Linked DNA regions of Homo sapiens: region 2 is linked to region 1. Evidence: promoter capture Hi-C in human tissues and cell types (Jung and others, 2019). All regions are on one chromosome and are shown on one strand. Each heading gives the region's core, a stretch centred on a gene start or on the middle of the fragment in contact. The rest is flanking DNA. Distances are from core to core; before and after follow the strand shown. Region 1 holds the start of SLTM (SAFB like transcription modulator). Region 2 has its middle 22 kb from the start of GCNT3.

Evidence for each region. Contacts are between HindIII fragments. The study calls those that stand out against the background at their distance.
Region 2: a fragment that was not itself captured here is called in contact with the fragment with the promoter of SLTM in region 1 in 2 of the 25 tissues and cell types used here (hippocampus and lymphoblastoid cells).

The regions. Positions count from the first base shown.
Region 1 is chr15:58,931,325-58,934,979 of GRCh38, forward strand. It overlaps SLTM (SAFB like transcription modulator), which reads right to left and starts at 2,355. Exons shown (of 21, transcript NM_024755.4): 1 at 2,080-2,355; 2 at 1,032-1,119. The coding sequence starts at 2,241. RefSeq lists silencers at 1,712-1,971, 2,342-2,521 and enhancers at 2,022-2,261, 2,552-2,691, 2,712-2,801. The HindIII fragment of the contact is 29,686 bases long and covers 73-3,655 here.
Region 2 is chr15:59,588,096-59,591,833 of GRCh38, forward strand. No RefSeq gene overlaps it. Among named protein-coding and RNA genes, the nearest start is that of GCNT3, 22 kb to the right of the region's middle. The HindIII fragment of the contact is 7,810 bases long and covers 1-3,738 here.

The sequences.
Region 1 (3,655 bases), core at 1,105-3,604:
GGAAGACTTAAAATAGTGAGTTGTCCTCATCTCTGATACCCAGGTGTGCTTAAGATCAAAATTTAATATTCCCTTTTCAATATTAATCCATTCATTTTATTTTAGTTGCAATCATTCAGTGGTTGGGAGTAACACTTGGATCACTTAAAGCAGTAAAGAAAATTAGATTACAAAAAATGCAGCAGCTGTTCATGACAAACTCTGCATGAAAATTGTAGGTAAAGACCAGAATCCAGATATATCATGTCCACCCTCTGCCACTGTCCTTATAGGAGGGAGAAATTTGCAGTTATTCAAATAAAGGTTTCATTTACCAAGAAGCTTTAAAAAATACCTAAGTTCCATTCATACTGCAAAACGTTCATTTAAAACCACTTTTAGCTAGTCACTAAATCATTATATCCTAGAAATAAATATATTTTGCTCTAGCTTAAAAGTTAAAAATAAGAATCTTTAACATCCCTATAATTTAAAACTTTTTTAAGCTAATTAATCATGGATTTTTCCCTCTACCTTGTTAGTATGATTGGTGAGGTCTTTTTGAATTTCACTAAAAATTAGGAGGTATAATGGCATAAATGCAAATTAAGTTCACCAAGTCAAACAAAGTACTAAACATAAAGGTTATAGAATTTTAATATACTAAAGAAAACAGCAAGGAGGCAAGGTAAAAGATTTGGTAGGAATTCCATCAAAACTCTGCCAATTGTGGGGCAAGGTAGACATGTGTTAAACTGTATTTTATTCAGGTCTTCACACTATGAAGCATCATTACACAACTTGACTTTGTAATTTTTTCCGGAAGCAATAAAGAACTGTTCTCACTTTCTAATCAGCTTCAGCCGAATCTTAAGGGCTACAAGTCACCCAAAGCCTGGCAACAGTAACTTTTCTTCCTTGACCCAAGAAGGCAGACTGCCAGAGGGAAATAGCAAAGAGTAGCACTATATAAACAGGGCAAGAGGCACAAGAGCAGAGGCAAGTTATATAACCAAAATATATTTTAAAACATGTTCATAACTCGTAACAACCTTTGCCTTTAGTTGGTTTCTTGTTTGGAGTATCAGTTGAAACAGTTAATTCAATATTATCTGGATCGCCTCCTTCCTCTTCAATAGCCTACATTAGAAAGAGAAGTTAATATGCTACACAATCTATCTAAACTTATTTTATAAAAACGAAATGAAAAAAAATTTAGCAAACCTCAAGCCTCAAGACATTAGAATTGCCAGTCATTTCATCAACCGACTTCAAAAATGAGCAATTAAACTACACGAAAGAGTGAGAGAAACTTTCAGGGGAAAAAAATCATTAGGTATCAAAATCGCAAGGAGTTTTAAATTCTACCGTGTCAAGATAATTAAATATCACATCATACTGGCCAAAAATCCAAATATGTTCTATTGCAGAAAAGTTGCTAGCTACTAAAGTAAATAACTAAAAAGAGTTTTCCTAGTTTCTGTAATGCAAACTTACTGCTCCTCTGCTACAATTCCAACGCTCACTCAAACCAGAAAGCTAATCAGGAAAGAAAAAGTAATTATTGCGCTGATGCAAAAACTAAAAGCCTAGTGGAAAACAAAAACTCTGTCACCCACCCATCAACTCCCACTACCAATTCCCCCTCAAGATGGGGAAGAAACGGTTGGGCACAATTAAACGGTAACTTCGCAGAAGTCACCAAAGTAACCATTCCCTCTGAGGCCAAGAAATGCACACGCTCACCATGGCTAAAGGCTGGGGAGCCAGCGCCTCCCAGGTCTCCGCGATCGCCCTTGGGAGGCCGCGCCGGCCGGCCGCAACCCTCGCAGCCTGGCGGGGACGTCCCGGGGAGGCGGAGGCACGCTGGGCTGCGGTGGCCGGTCCCTCGCAGGCCCGGCCCGGCCCGGGGCGCGGGGCGGGGGCACCGCGGAAGGGTCCCCGTCCTCCACGCTCGCGGGAGCCGCCCCTGGCCTCCCTACCATGCCGTTCCGCAGGTCCCAGCGGCTGCGGGCAGCCGGAGGCTGCGGCGGAAGCGGGGCGCCGAGGCGCGGCCTAAGTTCCCCTTCCCGGTCCTTTCCGGTCCTCGCCGGGCCTCACCTGCTTGAGTCGGGAGATGAGCACGGTCTTGACTCCGGTGATGTCTAAGTTCCGCCGCTTCAGCTCGGACTTCAGATCGATGACCCGCAGATCGGTGATCTTTTTACCTTCCGCCTGACCCGAGGCGGCCGAGGCTGCCACCGCACCGGTAGCGGCAGCCATCTTAGAAGAGCAGCGCGCTGCCGAGGCAGCGAGTGGGCTGCAGGGCGGCGGCAGCAGCGCCAACTTCCACCCAGGCCTCGGCGGCCGCCGGCGCCGCGCAGCGCTGCGCACAATGAGCCGCTGGCCCCTCCCCCGGTCCGCCACCCTAGCGCAACCTGCAGCAGCAGCCGCCAGCACCCGGATGACGGCCGCGCGTGCGCGTTGGCGCAGGGACCGGCAGCGGCGCGCTCGGTCGAGCGGGCCGCGGCCACTTGGGCGGTGCGCTCCCTTGTGTGGACTGGGAGGTCGGGCACGTCCTACCGCAGCAACGTCCGCCGCGCCGCCGTTCTCTCGTCGCTTCGTTAGCCATTTTCTTGCAACGTCTTGAGTCTTGAGCAACAACGATGTGCGGGCACTGAATGACATAGTGCGCGCGTTACTCAACACAAACCGAGGGGGCGCGTGCGCGCGCTGAACCTCTCAAGGAAATACTTTATCAGTTCTGCTGAATAATCGAAAAATTGTCGCCGGTGTGCACCAACGAACTAGGTTCCCCGAGTTCCATTCAAAAGACCTCAAAGCAGTTCTAGGGCTGTTAGTCCAAAGAATAGGAAGGGCTGGCCTTTGACACATGGCTCATTGGCTGTCTCAGGAGAAAACATCATCGCCCTGCCCATGGCAGCTTAGGTTATTCTAGGGCTGCCCTTCCTCACTTGAAAAACAGGAAAACTTCTTTCTTGTTGGCCTCAGGTTTGCTATCCTCCCCGGTAGACCTGATGGCTCAACACGAAATTGTTCAATGAAAGAGAAAACTAGCTTATAAGTACTTGTTGCCGTTATCATATACTGTGTTCACTATTTTGCCCCCCAAAATTTGGGATTCCAAGAACAGTGAGCATCTTCTTATGGAGGATCGGCCTGTACAAGTGAGTACCTATTTGTAATTTTACCTTGTATTATTCATTATCAAAGTGCAAGCATTGATAAAATAAAACGATTCTATAAATTCCATAAGGTGATTATGATGCACAATTAACTATACTGTATTTCCTGGTTTTACAACTTAAATTCCTGAGATCTGACTCACTTTAGGTTACTTTTTCTGATTGGCTCAAAAAAAAGGAAGACTGGACATTATAAAAGAATACCTGACATTAGGGTAGTTCTTTACAGTTTATAAGGCACTTTGACGTACAGTAACCCCCTTAATCCTTCCCAAGTCTGTCAAGTAAATCTCCGTGAGGCTTAGAGAGATTAAATGACTTGCCCATGTTCACACAGCTGGTATGTGGCCGAGCTGTGCTCAAATCCCAGGCTCCTGATTCCAAATCCAGCTCTGTCTCTGCTACAACATTGGATTCACAATAATAGAAGTTTAGAATGCAAGACTCCTTAGAAATCTTCTGGCCCATCACTTGAGGTCAGGAGTTCAAGA
Region 2 (3,738 bases), core at 6-2,505, 660 kb after region 1:
GTCTCAAAAAACAAACCAACAAAAAACCCTCAAACAAACAAAAACAAATAAAAACTCAAGTGAAATATTTGTGAAAGGGAGAAGTTTACTTTCCTTGGAAAATAGATGGTTGAACATTACCATTAAGAAAAATTATTTAAAAGCTGGAAATGAGAAAGTTGGGCAGCATAGCATAGTCTTGCAGTATCAGATAAGGGCATCCAAGGATTTTTATTTATTTATTTTTTTGAGACACAGTCTCTCTATGTCACTCAGGCTGGAGTGCAATGGTGTGATCTCAGCTCACTGCAAGCTCCACCACCCGGTTCAAGTGATTTTCCTGCTTCAGCCTCCTAAGTTGGCTGGGTTTACAGGCGTGCACCACCACACCTGGCTAATCTTATTTTTGGTAGAGATGGGGTTTCACCATGTGGGTCAGGCTGGTCTCCAACTCCTGACCTCGTGATCCACCCACCTCAGCCTCCCAAAGTGCTGGGATTACAGGCACCTGGCCATTTTTTTTTTTTTTTTTTTTTTTTGAGGTGGTGTCTTGCTCTGTCACCGAGGCTGGAGTGCAGCGGTACAGTCTCGGCTCACTGCAACATTTGCCTCCCAGGTTCAAGCTATTCTCCTGCCTCAGCCTCCGGAGTAGCTGAGATTACAGGCACCTGCCACCACATCAGGCTAATTTTTGTATTTCTATTAGAGATGGGGTTTCACCATGTTGGCAGGCTGGTCTTGAACTCCTGACCTCAAGTGATCCACCCACCTCGGCCTCCCAAAGTATTGGGATTACAGGCGTGAGCCACTGTGCCCGGCCCTAAGGATGTTTTAATTATCTAGGGCAAAGCTTCTCAGTCTTCACACCAGTGACATTTTGAGCTGGATAATTCTTAGTTGTAAAGAGCTATCCTGTTCATTGTAGGATGTGCAGCATCATCTATGGCCTCCACGCACAAGATGCCAGCAGACACCACCTCCTGTGACCAAAAATGTCTCCAGACAATGTCAAATGTGCCCTAGGGAGGCGAAATCACCCCTGGTTGAGAACCACTGATCAGGGAGAATGCACCTTTGACTTTGCTATTTGCTAATAATAAACATGTTAAATGGCCGGAAAGCACTGTGTCTAGCTTTAGCTAACTCAAGCTCAGTAAAAGTATATGTTAACTTGCAGATCTTGTTTGGTAGAGATACAAATAATGTATATCCGGTAGAAGAGAAGGGCTCAAATGTTACGATTTTATATGGCCCTATAAGGCATTAGCCAGTTCTATGTCTAAGCTAGGAACTTTATTCCAACATTCTTTTATAAATGTCTACAAATATTTCGTTTCTCAAGGTGCCCTTTGAATCAGCTTTACTATCTTACTTCTTCCCTCATTAATTAGTAAGTTGAGTAAGTTTTTGACATCTTCAATGCATATTAGTAAAGAGTCAAGTTTTAAACTTCTGTGAAAATTATAATCTAGCATGATCGACTTTTCTCTCTGGGCTGACATGAGCTGGGGCTGCCAATCATAATATTTGGGCATTTCTCTTCTACTGGGCATAAATTACTTGTATCTCTACCAAACAAGATCTTCAAGTCAAAGGTACATTCTCCCTGATTATGGTTGTCAACCAGGGGTGATTTTGTCTCCCTAGGGTACATTTGACATTGTCTGGAGACATTTTTGGCCACAGCTCGGGGTAGGAGGTGGTATCTGCTGGCATATTATGGGTGGAGGCTATAGATGATGCTGCATATCCTACGATGAACAGGATAGCTCTTTACAACAAAGAATTATCTAGCTCAAAATGTCATTGTTGGCCAGGCACAGCAGCTCATGCCTGTAATCCCAGAACTTTGGGAGGCCAAGGTGGGCAGATCACTTGAGGTCAGGAGTTCGAGACCAGCCTGGCCAACATGGCGAAATTCCGCAAAAATTAGTTGGGCGTGGTGGCGTGTGCCTGTAATCCTAGCTACTCGAGAGGCTAAGGCAGGAGAATGACTTGAACCCTGGAGACAGAGGTTGCAGTGAACTGAGATCATAGTATTGCACTCCAGCCTGGGTGACAGAGCCAAAAAAGAAGAAAAAGTCATTGTGAAACTTGCGTCATGAGGCTCCTACCTTTCAGATTTGGCTTTCAATTTTTCTCATATCTGTGTGGTGCTTTTAGATCCTTCTTGTCTCTCACAACCCGGTCAGCGTATCCCTAGCATCACTGATCTGGTAGGGTCCTCACCATTTCTACCCGAACTATTGCAGTATCTCCCCAGCTAGCCTCTTCACTTCCTGCCTTTCTTTTTTCTTTTTCTTTGTTTCTTTTTTTGTTTTTTGAGACGGAGTCTCGCTGAGTCACCCAGGCTGGAGTGCAGTGGCGCTATCTTGGCTCAGTGCAACCTCTGCATCCTGGGTTTAAGCAATTCTCCTGTCTCAGCCTCCCAAGTAGCTGGGACTACAGGCGCATGCCACCATGCCCAGCTAATTTTTATATTTTTAGTAGAGATGGGGTTTCAGCTGGGCGTGGTGACTCACGCCTGTAATCCTAGCACTTTGGGAGGCCAAAGTGGGTGGATCACGAGGTCAGGAGTTTGAGACCAGCCTGGCCAACATGGTGAAACCCCATCTCTACAAAAGATACAAAAAATTAGCCAGGTGTGGTGGCATGCACCTGTAAATCCCAGCTACTGGGGAGGCTGAGGCAGGAGAATCACTGGAACATGGGAGGCGGAGGTTGCAGTGAATCAAGATTGCGCCATTGCACTCCAGCCTGGGCAACAGGGCGAGACTCCGTCTCAAAAAAAAAAAAAAAAAGATGGGGTTTCACCATGTTGGTCAGGCTGGTCTCGAACTCCTGACCTCAGGGATCTACCTGCCTTGGCCTCCCAGACTGCTGGGATTACAGGTGTGAGCCACTGTGCCCAGCTACTTCCTGCCTTTTGTGCCATCCTTTCATCCTTGCTGAGCTCTGCTACCAACTAAGGATTCTCAAAACATGGTTCTGACATGTTCCTCCCAGACAAAGATGCCAGGGAGCAGCATCACAGAATTTCTGATCTGAAAGAGCTTGTCTTTTAGATTTAGGTTTAGGGGTTCCAGTTTCTACACCCTGAGGAAACTGAGACCCAGAGAAGACAAGTAGCTGATTAAAGTCACACAGGGAAGAGAATATTGTATAGTCAGGTTGAAAGTGCCCTAGACAGTTCCTAGAAATTGACATTGTGCATAAATCCCGGATATTATTCTGCTCCCCATTCATTTTGGTTGGAAAGTACAAGGCAGAAACTGTTCCCACTAAACGAGTGTGGAGAAAGGGGTGCCAAGTAATTGAGACTTCCCTGGTTTCAATCAACACCTTCTAGATAAGTCTTTCATTATGAAAAACCACACACTGCTTAATCTGTCTTCCTGTGGCCTTAGGATCCTGCCTGCTTTAACCTCAACAAGCTCTGGGTTCCTTATTCTGCCACTCATTTGATTGTGCAGTTGGTTTTTCCTGATACTCCCATAATTAATTCTGTTTGCTTTTCATTGTATGTTCCTGCTTTCTTCCAGCTCTCTGGCCTCCCAGTCTACTTCCGTCTTTCTGTACTAACAACACCTTCTAGCCTCTGCTTTTTTGGATTTTCCCACAAAGAACTAACAAGTTGAGTTAAGTCCCTTCATTAACATTTTTTTAAAATCCCCATGTATAATTGGATCAGCGTGGTGTTCGATGCACGTTATTTTTGCACACTTGCACAGACTGTAATAAGTATCCCATTGGATTGTT